Regions from separate parts of the Homo sapiens genome. Here regions 1 and 3 are each linked to region 2. Evidence: promoter capture Hi-C in 16 types of primary human blood cells and fetal thymus (Javierre and others, 2016). All regions are on one chromosome and are shown on one strand. Each heading gives the region's core, a stretch centred on a gene start or on the middle of the fragment in contact. The rest is flanking DNA. Distances are from core to core; before and after follow the strand shown.

Region 1 (4,013 bases), core at 1,283-3,782, 280 kb before region 2:
CTGCAACCTCCCCCTCCCAGGTTCAAGCGATTCTCCTGCCTCAGTCTTCTGAGTAGCTGGGATTACAGGTGCCCGCCACCACGCCCGGCTAATTTTTGAATTTTTAGTAGAGACGGGGTTTCACCACGTTGGCCAGGCTGGTCTTAAACTCCTGACTTCAGGTGATCTGCCTACCTTGGCCTCCCAATGTGCTGGGATTACAGGCGTGAGCCACAGCACCCGGCCAGGACTTTTCTTTTTTCTTTTTTTTTTTGAATAAAATAATTTTATTTTTGTATAATAAAATAATTTTATTTTTGTATAATAAAATAATTTTATTTTTATATAATACAATTTATCAGTCTTTTATTGTTTTGGATGAGTTCACTTCCATTAAATCCAGGGAAGTGAAATTATATATGTGACCTTAATATGAGTTTTAATAATCTACTTTTCAATTTTTCAGTATTTTAAATATTTCTTTAATGTTCTGGAAAAAATAGCCACTAGCAAATACAGAAATACGTGTACACAGGGGCACACATTTTTCCTTTTGTCTCTGTCTCCAGTACGTCTCAGGGCAGCACTGAGCAGAGGCCTATGGGCCATCTCAGTCTTTCATTAGAGCCAGTAGCCAAAACATATCTGTCCAAGAGCTATGACAACAGCAGCAAAGCTTGTGGAAGCCTCAGCCAACTTAGTCCTAGAGTTTCCACCAAACTGAATGGTTCCCCATAGTGAACACTGTTTTACTGAGAGAAAACAGTCAGCGCTTCTTGGTTATCCACCTCCCTAAGAGTTATAATAGCGATAGAAAAATATGAGAAAACTTCAACTTCAGTAGATTTAGTTCTGACGCCTCCGCTAAACTTAGTGGTTCCCCATGCTCTGCGGACGCTTATATTCACAGAATATCCTCACCACTTTTTGCTAGTTGCCTACCCTCTGTGACATATCGTTGCCTCCCCCTTCGCATATCACTGTCCAGTGTGGCAATACTCTACACACAGCCACCTCCTTCTTTTAAAGGAGGTGGCTTTACCTCTGTTAAGGGACTATCATGCTCTTTCAGATCTTTTTTTAAATTTTTATTTTTTAACCTTTTAAAAATTTCAATAGTTTTTGGGGAACAGGTGATTTTTGGTTACATGGATAAGTTCTTCAGTGATAATTACTGAGATGCAGCCATCACCTGAGCAGTGTACATTGTACCCAATGTGTAGTCTTTTATCCCTCGTCCCCCTCCCAACTTCCCCCTTGTCTCCACCGTCCCTTTTATCATTCTTACACTTTTGCGTCCTTGTAGCTTAGCTCTCACTTATAAATGAGAACTACAATATTTGGTTTTCCATTCCTGAATTTCTTCACTTAGAATAATGGTCTCCAATTCCATACAAGTTGCTGCAAATGCCATTATTTTGTTCCTTTTAATGGTTGAGTAGTATTTCACTATATATATATATATATATCTCACATATATATCACATATATATGTGTATATAAATGTGATATATATATGTATACACACACTACATTTTTAAAATCCACTTTTTGGTTGATGGGCATTTAGGCTGGCCCCATATTTTTGCAATTGCAAATTGTTTTGCTATAAACATATGTGCAAGTGTCTTTTTCATATAATGAACTCTTTTCCTCTGGGTAGATACTCAATAGTGGGATTGCTGGATCAAATGGTAGTTGTACTGTTAGTTCTTTGAGGAATCTCCATACTGTTTTCCATACTGGTTGTACTAGTTTACATTCCCACCAGCAGTGTAGAAGTGTTCCCTGTTCACTGTATCCACACTAACATCTACGGTTTTTTTGATTTTTTTATTATGGCCATTCTTGCAGGAGTAAGGGGGTATCTCATTGTGGTTTTAATTTGCAGTTCCCTGATGATTAGTGATGTTGAGCAGTTTTCATATGTTTGTTGGCCATTTGTACATCTTCTTTTGAGAATTGTCTATTCATGTCCTTTGCCCACTTTTTGATGGGATTATTTTTTTTTTCTTGCTGATTTGTTTGAATTCCTTGTCGATTCTGGATATTAGTCCTTTGTATGATGCATAGTTTGCAAATACTTTCTCCCGTCCTGTGGGTTGTCTGTTTACTCTGCTGATTATTTCTTTTGCTGTGCAGAAGCTTTTTAGTTTAATTAGGTCCCATCTATTTTTGTTTTTATTGCACTTGCTTTTGGGTTCTTGTTCATGAACTCTTTGCCTAAGCCAATGTCTAGAAGAGTTTTACTGATGTTATCTTTTATAATTTTTATAGTTCCAAGTCTTAGATTTAAGTCTCTGATCCATCTTGAGTTGATTTTTGTATAAGGTGAGAGATGAGGATCCAGTTTCTTTCTTCTAGATGGTGTCCTTTTCCCACTTTATGTTTTTGTTTACTTTGTCAAGGATCAGTTGGCTTTAAGTATTTGAGTTTATTTCTGCGTTCTCTATTCTGTTCCATTGGTCTACATGCCAATTTTTATACCAGTGCCATGCTGTTTTGGTAACTATAGCTTTATAGTAGAATTTGAAGTTGGGTAATATGCCTGCAGATTTATTCTTTTTGCTTAGTCTTGCTTTGGCTATGTGGTGTCTTTTTTTGTTCCATATTAATTTTAGGATTATTTTTTCTAGTTCTGTGAAGAATGATGATGGTACTTTGATGGGAATTGCATTGAATCTGTAGATCCCTTTTGGCAGTATGGTCATTTTCACTATATTGATTCCACCCACCCATGATCTTGGGATGTGTTTCCATTTGTTTGTGTTGTCAATGATTTCTTTCAGCAGTGTTTTGTAGTTTTCCTTTTAGAGATTTTTCACCTCCTTGGTTAGGTATATTCCCAAGTATTTTATTTTTTGGACACCCCTCATTTAATTGTTTGTAGATGGTTCATACCTAAAAAGAAAAACTACAAGTTGCCAATTATGTTATACTATCACAGACTTGAATTTACCTTTAAGCTTCTCAAAGAAATGAAATCTGTTCAGATGGCTAAATTGCCTTTGTCCAGACATGCCAGCCAACAAAAGATAAAAAACAAATACTTGTCCTGATGGTGGGTATGATTTTGGGTTGGCCCATGATTTTGAAATGCTTTAAAAAAAAAGGACATTTTCTGACTGTTACAGGAATCCTTATAAAATGGATAGCAAATTAAGGAACCCTGAGAAGTTTTCCATTACCTAAAGAAATGGCCATGATAAATGTAGAATTTAGCAAAAGTGCTTCATGATATTACCCATAATACAAGAGATAAATCTGCCATGATTTTTATTTTATTTTTTATTTTTTGACTTTTATTTTAAGTTCAGGGGTATATGTATAGGTTTGCTACATAGGTCAACTCATGCCACAGGGGTTGTTGTACAGATTATTTTGTCACCCAGGTATTAAGCCTGGTATCCATTAGTTATTTTGTCTTATCCTCACCCTCCTCCCACCCTGCACTTTCTGGCGGGCCTCAGTGTCTGTTGTTCCCCTCTCTGTGTCCATGTGTTCTTATAATTTAGCTCCCATTTACAAGTGAGAACATGTGGTATTTGGTTTTCTGTTCCTGTGTTAGTTTGCTAAGGATAATGGCCTCCAGCTCCATCCGTGTTCCTGCAAAGGACATGACCTTGTTCTTTTTTATTTGTCATGATATTGAACCAACATTGATGGGGGTAATTTTAGGAGGTTTCATAGACATTTCCAAAATATGTCCAACCTGACAATGACACAATCCTGGCAAGATTTTAAGGATAGGTCATGGACAGGAACCGAAGTCTCACTGCCCCTTTGAACGTCTCCAAATGTGCTGAGTGCATTCTGATTATTGTTGTTTATTCTTAGGGTTAGTTGATGTTTTACCTTACTGGAGAGTGGTAGCTATAGTGGTAGGAACAAATTTGCTTAATTTTGTTGTATTTCTGACTTGGAAAATCCCAACTTATTTTGCAGTTAAGAGGAACACACATATCACTGGTACTGTTGTTACTGAACCCTGCAATGCTTTACTTTTTACTCAGAATCTCTACTGACCTTTATCA
Region 2 (4,279 bases), core at 1,215-3,714:
GAGTCTTGGTGTTATCTTTGATTTCTTTTTCTCTCACAGCCTGGAGCTAATTTTTCAGGAATTCCCACTGGCACTTAAAAAATAGATATAAAATCTGATACATCTGATTTCTCTCCATATATATGATTAACACATTGATTTGGAAACACCATCTTCTCTCTGGATGCCTACAATAGCATCTGTAATCCTTTCTCTGCTTTCATCCTCATCATCTTGTGCTGTTCCCATTAAGTCAGAAGCAATATCTAAAAAACATATGTCAAATAATGTCAATTCACTGCTCAACCTTGGCTTTTATTCCGAGAGAAATTATGAACCTTTGCAAAGTGAAATCCTTACATGGCTGATATGGTTTGGCTCTGTGTCCACACCCAAATCTCCTCTCGAATTGTAATCCCCACATGTCAGAAGAGGGGACCTGGTGAGAGGTGATAGGATCATGGGGGCAGATTTCCCCCTTGATGTTCTGTTTAAAAGCGTATGGCCCCGCCCCCATTCCCTTTTTCCTGCTCCGCTGTGGTAAGACCTGCTTGCTTCCCCTTCATCTTCTGCCATGACTAAGTTTCCTGAGGCCTCCCAGCCATGCTTCTGTACAGCCTGCAGGAACTGTGAGTCAGTCAAACCTCTTTTCTCCATAAAAGTACCCAGTCTCAGGTAGTTCTTCATAGCAGTGTGAGAACAGACTGATACAAAGGCCTACAATGTTCTGTGTGATCACAGCTAACTGGAAAAAAAAAAAAAGAAAGCAGCACCCAGGTATGGGTAGGGCACATTATATTCACAGGATCAACAATAAGACTGATATTAATAGATACTTGACTTCAAAAAAAGCAAGTGAAGGCAGAATACAATTAATATACTAAAGTGGATGAAAGAAGAATTGCCCATTTAAAAACCTATTCAAATTGAAATAGAATTTTAGACAGAGGCCCGGGAGGTGAGTCATCTTTCACAAACAAAGATGACTAAGATAATTTTACAAATGAGCAAAAGTTGATGGAATGTGTCACTATATGGCCTGTAATAAAAGCAAAAATAAAAGTAGTTTTTCATGCAGAAAAAAAATGATCCAGATGGAAACATGAAAAACCTGGAGGGAATGAAGAACACCAAAACAAAGATGCATATGAATGTAAAAGAATCTAGATTTTACAAAAGAAAAGATAGGGTGGGGAGGATGTCAATGAATTAAACAGTCTAAGTGTTCCAATATTCCAGCAGTTATCTCCAGCATGGTTTGAGCCAATGGCCCCACTGCCCACTCCCCCACTCCATGTGCTTCTTATCCTGCTCCTATGATGTCAGGATTGCCCATTCAGAATGGAGTTGGGGGCAAATTAAGGTGCTTTGTTCACAAAAACACTGTCTATTCTATCTGGCTCTTGTCTGGCTTTTATCTGGCTTTTGCCATATTAGGTTTTGGTGAGGTGCTTTTCATACAGGCTGTATCCCCTTGGCCTAGCTGTACATTGTTAAAACTATGTAGGAATTCCACTTTATCCCAGCATCCCAAAAGATCAGACTTATCATGGAGGAGTGCTGAGTCCACACCCTTGAGGGCCAACTATTACAGAAGGGGAAGTTAGTTCCAGGGTACCTGTGTGGGAAGGGAGTGAGATGACTGAGTTACAGCGTTCTGAGATTGCTTTTAAAAATTATGGGGAATTAGGGTAGACAAAATCCATGGAGAACTCTAGTGAAAAGCATCTTCTCAGGTCCTTGAAAAATAGCACACATTAAGTCAGCTGTAGGTAGAAAGATCACTCTTTATCATTTATAGATGATTGGTAATTTCCTAATTATTAATAAGGAATCACATTCATAGTGGCCTCTTGTTTATCTACTTAGATCCTCCTATCCTTGTGAGTTAGAAAATATTGTAAAAGTTATCTCTACCTTAGAGATAAGAAAAATAGATCAGGGATCAGACAGGTGCCAGATCAAGTTCACGAGCTGGTTATTAATGCATATCTCAGGCCAATATGAAATATGAATGCAAAATAAAATGCCTAATGGATGACCTTGGCCTGGTCAGGCTGGACTCCCTGCCCTTTCAAGTCAGTTCTGACAGGAGTTGCCTGCAGTGTATATTTTCTGATGAGGCTGGCTTTCTTTGAAGACACTGTAAGGATAAAGAGTAAGGAGAGGCACAGCAAACACCAAGACACAAGCCAGCTCCACCTGAAAGTCTCACAGCCTCTGGCAAGTAGGGCATGACCCCTGGTAGGCACAACTCAGTGCCACTAGCTGGGGAGGAGGCATGGGTTGTAGGAAACAAGGATACAGTCCCCTTGGGTCAGGGGAAGTCCCCTTGCATCAACCCAGAGAGAGGAGGCCAGAGATGTCTCTGAGGACTCTGCTCAAGTGCAGCAGTTTCTGCTTCCACAGCCTTCTGGGAGAAGGGCAGAGGTTGGTGAGGATTAAAGCCAGCTGCTCGCTTCCCAGCTTCCTCCTTCTAAGACTCCTTAGACTGAAAGAGGAAGGCGGCACTGGTGCTGCATGAAGCTAATGAAAAGGGCCCAGGATTGTAAGTCAGACTGAGGACTGTGGATACAGCTGCAACTTAGGGAAATAGAAAACAAGTGATGTTATTGGGGTGAGCAGGAAGGTGGGAGTGAGCTGGAAGGTGGGGGCACTGTCAATTTCTTCCCATAGCCATTCCTGATCTTAGGCATCAGCTCTCCAACCCTGTTATTGCTTCTACTCTGGTCCTTCAATAGAGGGAACAGAAGTCTCGATAGTCCCACCCAACTGTTTGGTACACAAACTCCAGATGCTCTCCCCACCACAGAGGATGCCTGCTTCCGTCCTATGCCAAACACTGTGGGCCATCTCCAAGAAGTCTTAGTTGATTATTCCAGTTTGGATCTGTCACTTCTCACCTCCTGTCATTGCTTTTTCTAACCCCTGGCAAATGCCCCATCCCAGTTAAAGGGCTTCTGCATTAGTCAAGAGGAAGAAAACGAGGCCTGAACTAGAAAGATGGCAGGGAAAGGTAAGAAATACCTTATCTTTGAGGTTCTTCTACCAGAAGCAGTCCTGAAGTATCTTGATTATGTGATTATCCTTCCTTGTCTGGTTCTAAGTTTTTCAGATATGTCATTCTGATATCCTTTTAAGATAAAGGTATAGGCAACCAAATAGATTCAGTATTAATTGAGTCCATTCTGGGTACAGAGGCCTTTTTTAAGGAGAAATAGAAGATAAATCCTTTGAGCATGGACATCTTAGTTCTGAAAACAATGAACAGTCTGGACAAAACTTGCACTACAGAGGAGGTCTTAGTTTCTGGATATTAGGGGAAGAAGACTGGCTCCATTCACACTCCTACTCAGAGCACTTCATTCTGAGGAGTTGATTTTAGATGAACTTCAAAGGAAGTAAGATTTATGAACTATTAGACACCCTGTCTTTTCAGGAAGAAATCTGATAGAAGAGATGCCTTTTTTTCTTGTATGAAGATGGGTAGACAGCTCACAGGGTGGTTAGTGATGTTTAAAAGTTGAATGGAGGAATCTAGGGGGACATGGAGACTCAAAGTAAAACATGTGGGTTTTGTGGAAAATACATATTGAGATAAGGTAAAGATGCAGCAGGTTTGTGGGATTATTTCACAGTATTTTAGAAGAGTTTCTTAGACGCCAGGCATGTTTCTAGGTACTGATATGTACTTGAAAATAAAAATGTCTGTTGTCATAAGAGCTTGTTCCTGACAAAAATGCACAAACATTATGAATATTTAAAATAGTATTTTCCATTAAGAAGAGAATTTTATTCTGATGCAGGTAACAAAGTATTGTAATCGGGATGCTTAGAACCTCCATTCTGGATGCATTTTAAATGAGAAGATAACCCAAATTCTGAGCTTAAATCACATGAGGGGAGTAGTATTCTGAGAAATATGTCTTCCAATAATCTAGTAGTCTGTTTTATTTAGTGAAATGTTCCACACCTATGTATGTTAGAGGCTGGGTTTACAGAAGGAAAATAGGTAGAGTTTCTTAACTCCAGTCCCTTCACTTCATGATATGGTGGGTAATTGTTGAAGGATAAATATTGGAGAACAAAGTGGAACTTTGTGTACTTGTTAGGATTCTTTTGTAGCAGTAGTTGCTGGGAGATGCTGTGGCTTGAACAAGGGTGATGGTGTTGGAAGGGTGGAAGTGTTGGAAACGCAATGGGCAACGTGGAGATTTACTATGTAGGATGATCCAGTGTGCTTGCTGATGATTAAATATGATGCAGGAAGAAAAGAGAAGAATCCAGGATGACTTGATTC
Region 3 (3,813 bases), core at 105-2,604, 350 kb before region 2:
CACCATGCCTGGCTAATTATATTGTTTCTTGAATAACAGATGTCAAGATCTTAAAGGAATATAGCTTTCGTGTGGTGGCATTGATGTCTCGTCTTTATAAAAGATAGAATTTACCAAGCAATCTAGCATTAAATAACTCTTAAGTGATTTTAGTTTAAGCTTCAAAGCTGTAGTCTTTTCTAAGCAGTCACTGTTATTTATTTCTTCATACATTTTCTGCTTTTCCATTCAGATTGTAAATCCTCACTTATTGAAAGATCTTACCGAGCGGGGCCTATGGCATGAAGAGATGAAAAACCAGATTATTGCATGCAATGGCTCTATTCAGGTATAGAATGAAAATGAAGTGTGCTCTGCAGGGGCTGAGTTGGACATTGTGGTACCTCCTCACTCATGCTAGACAATGGAGAGAATGACTTCATTGTGTTCATCTAGGTTTTGCTTGTGTAGCTCTGTTCACCTCTGCATTGTTGTGCTAGGATTGTACACATCTTTACATAACCCTTACCATCTTGTTTTTATGCAATAATATAAAAAAGTAGTTCTCAATTTTTCTGCATCTTAGAATCAACTGGGGAGCTTTTAAAATCCTGAAGCTTAGGTTGCATTCCTTACCAATTAAATGTCTAGGAACAGGAACCAGACATCAATTTTTTTTTTTTTTTTTTTTTTTTGAGACGAAGTCTCTGTCGCCCAGGCTGGAGTGCAGTGGTGGAATCATGGCTCACTGCAACCTCTGCCTCCTAGGTTCAAGCGATTCTCCTGCCTCAGCCTCCCAAGTAGCTGGGATTACAGGTGCCTGCCACCACGCCCGGCTGTTTTTTGTATTTTTAGTAGAGACAGGGTTTCACCATATTGGCCAGGCTCCTGACCTCAGGTGATCCGCCTGCCTTGGCCTCCCAGGGTGCTAGGATTACATGCATGAGCCACCGTGCCTGGCCTCAGACATCAATAATTTTTAAAGATTCTTTTGGTGATTCCAAAGTATATCAAAATTTGGGGGATCATAGATAGAAAGACTGAAATTAAGAGAGTCAAGCTTAATTAAAAATCATGGTTGACGACTGATAGTCCAAAAGACAGAGTCACAAATCGTGTAAATATTTGCAACTAAGAGTCAAGAGGCATTTATTTGCAGATAGAGGTGTCTGGCTAAATGTTGGTCTGCTTAGCAACACAGATGAAGAGTCCTATAACAGTTCCATATTTAATGACAGAAACTGTAGCATTAGCCAGTCTGTGTGTTTTAATGAAAGTTAACCCTAGGCCTAAGAAAACCTGATTTTGGATTCCAAAGGGAGTTTGAAATCCTAGCTTATTTAAAGGGTTTTATCTCATTGCTTCCCTTGGTCCCTGTGAATTACAGCCCTTATTTTTTGTGTTTTCTGCAAAACTCAAGGGTCATTTATTGCTGCTTAGCTCTGACTTTTCCTTTCTTTAAGTGCCTCTAGAAGAATGAATGTTTGGGTCATAAATCAATTAAAAAATTAAAAAATTGGTTTATGACCAACAAAAAAGGGATGCTGAAATTACTATCACCAGATTGATATTTGGTTGGTTAGATGGGGGTTTTGTTCAACTTTCTAAATAGTCTTGGTAAACTTGATAAGGATCATATCATATGATACTGAATGGTAAGGTCAGATCTGGCAGGAAGTAAAATGAAGATCAAAGCTTGTGTCACTATTCTATTAATCATACACTGCTTTCTTTAACTGGAGTAAAGTAAACATTGGGTTTTCCTTCTTTAGAGCATACCAGAAATTCCTGATGACCTGAAGCAACTTTATAAAACTGTGTGGGAAATCTCTCAGAAAACTGTTCTCAAGATGGCAGCTGAGAGAGGTGCTTTCATTGATCAAAGCCAATCTTTGAACATCCACATTGCTGAGCCTAACTATGGCAAACTCACTAGTATGCACTTCTACGGCTGGAAGCAGGTTGGTAGAGAATATCAAGGAGTACTTAATTGCCAGCTTGAGATATTTTGGCATTGGAATGATTTTATGTTTTAGCCACCTATTAAATATTATCACCTAGAAGTTCTTTAAGTTCAAATCCAGAACGTTAAAACCAACCCATGGTTTTTGTACCAGAACAGGGTCTTGCCTTGGATTTTCTTGTTTCTGTTAGGTTTATTTCCTTCTTAGGTTTGAAACCTTGTAGTTACCTGTGATGCTTTCCTTCCTTTACTGTCCGTACAATTACCAAGTTGTGTTGATTGTTCCTTTGTATTATTTCTTAAATATCTTCCTTCCTTTTCTGCTGCTGTTATTCTAAACTGACCTTATTGCTTCTAGGATCTCTGCTCCCAGCCATTTTGTGTGCATTACCACCATTCCTCAGATAAAACTTTGCACACGTCAACCCGCTATTCAAAAACATCCATTGTTTTCTCACTTTATAAAGTGAAAGCCAGCTTACTTAGCTAGTCGTTGCCAGCTGTAAAGTCTGGTGATTTTGGATTATGTTCTTATTCCCTGATAATGTATTGGGTATTTAAGTAGAATTATAAATTTGTTTTTTAATTTAACATTTATTGAACATCTAGTATGTGCCAGGACTGAGGATACTGAATAGAAGATGATGATCTTTATCTTTGAAGTCTTATAGTCTGTTGTTACACAGAGACACAGTCTAGCTCTCTAAACAGTTATAACCTAAGGCAGACATATTGTCTTGGGCAAACCTGGAAGTCATATGCATAAAAACAAAGACAAAAGAATAAAAATGTTTGACCTTTCCAAAGAGATAAGCCTGTTTTAGGAGTGAAAAGAACAGGATATTTCTGTCTGACTCACAAAGCATTTTTGAGAGTACTCCTAGAGGAGATAGAATTCCAAGTTTAAAAAAAGTTTGATCTGGTTCATGGGAATGTATTTTATTTTATGTATGTATGTATGTATTTTGAGACAGAGACTCACTCTGTTGCCCCGGCTGGAGTACAGCGGCATGATCTTGGCTCACTGCAACCTCTGTCCTGGGTTCAAGTGATTCTCATGTCTTAGCCTCCTGAGTAGCTAGGATCACAGGTGTGTGCCAACACACCTGGCTAATTTTTGTATTTTTATTAGAGATGGGGTTTTGCCATGTTGGCCAGGCTGGTCTCAAACTCCTGGCCTCAAGCAATTCACCTGCCTCGGCCTCCCAAAGTGCTCGAATTACAGGTGTGAGCCACTGTGCCTGGCCAGGAATGTATTTTATTTTATTTTAATATTATTGTTTTATTTTATTTTATACTTTTTTAGACGGAGTCTCGCTCTGTTGCCCAGGCTGGAGTGCAATGATACAGTCTTGGCTCACTGCAACCTCAGCCTCCTGAGTAGCTGAAATTTATAGGCATGTACTACCCCTCTTGGGGGATTACAGGCATGAGCCACAGCGCCCAGCCAGGAATGTATTTTTTTGTTTGTTTGTTTGTTTGTTTTTTCTTTTTATTTATTTATTTATTTATTTTTATTGATCATTCTTGGGTGTTTCTCACAGAGGGGGATTTGGCAGGGTCATAGGACAATAGTAGAGGGAGGGTCAGCAGATAAACAAGTGAACAAAGGTCTCTGGTTTTCCTAGGCAGAGGACCCTGCGGCCTTCCGCAGTGTTTGTGTCCCTGGGTACTTGAGATTAGGGAGTGGTGATGACTCTTAACGAGCATGCTGCCTTCAAGCATCTGTTTAACAAAGCACATCTTGCACCGCCCTTAATCCATTTAACCCTGAGTGGACACAGCACATGTTTCAGAGAGCACAGGGTTGGGGGTAAGGTCACTGATCAACAGGCTCACAAGGCAGAAGAATTTTTCTTAGTACAGAACAA

The links. The method cuts DNA at HindIII sites, captures the fragments that hold promoters and counts their contacts. A CHiCAGO score of 5 or more calls a contact.
Region 1: a fragment that was not itself captured here is called in contact with the fragment with the promoter of OR52K1 in region 2 in 11 of 17 cell types (M2 macrophages, total CD8 T cells, non-activated CD4 T cells and 8 more); the score reaches 9.6 in M2 macrophages.
Region 3: a fragment that was not itself captured here is called in contact with the fragment with the promoter of OR52K1 in region 2 in 2 of 17 cell types (M1 macrophages and M0 macrophages); the score reaches 5.6 in M1 macrophages.

Annotation. Positions count from the first base shown.
Region 1 is chr11:4,197,980-4,201,992 of GRCh38, forward strand. The region is part of intron 1 of LINC02749 (long intergenic non-protein coding RNA 2749); the gene reads left to right. Among named protein-coding and RNA genes, the nearest start is that of LINC02749, 13 kb to the left of the region's middle. The HindIII fragment of the contact is 821 bases long and covers 2,123-2,943 here.
Region 2 is chr11:4,480,182-4,484,460 of GRCh38, forward strand. It overlaps OR52K1 (olfactory receptor family 52 subfamily K member 1), which reads left to right and starts at 2,465. Exons shown (of 2, transcript NM_001005171.3): 1 at 2,465-2,995. The HindIII fragment of the contact is 19,878 bases long and covers 1-4,279 here.
Region 3 is chr11:4,133,331-4,137,143 of GRCh38, forward strand. RRM1 (ribonucleotide reductase catalytic subunit M1) reads left to right here. Exons shown (of 19, transcript NM_001033.5): 17 at 233-328; 18 at 1,752-1,940. Among named protein-coding and RNA genes, the nearest start is that of RRM1, 40 kb to the left of the region's middle. The HindIII fragment of the contact is 635 bases long and covers 1,038-1,672 here.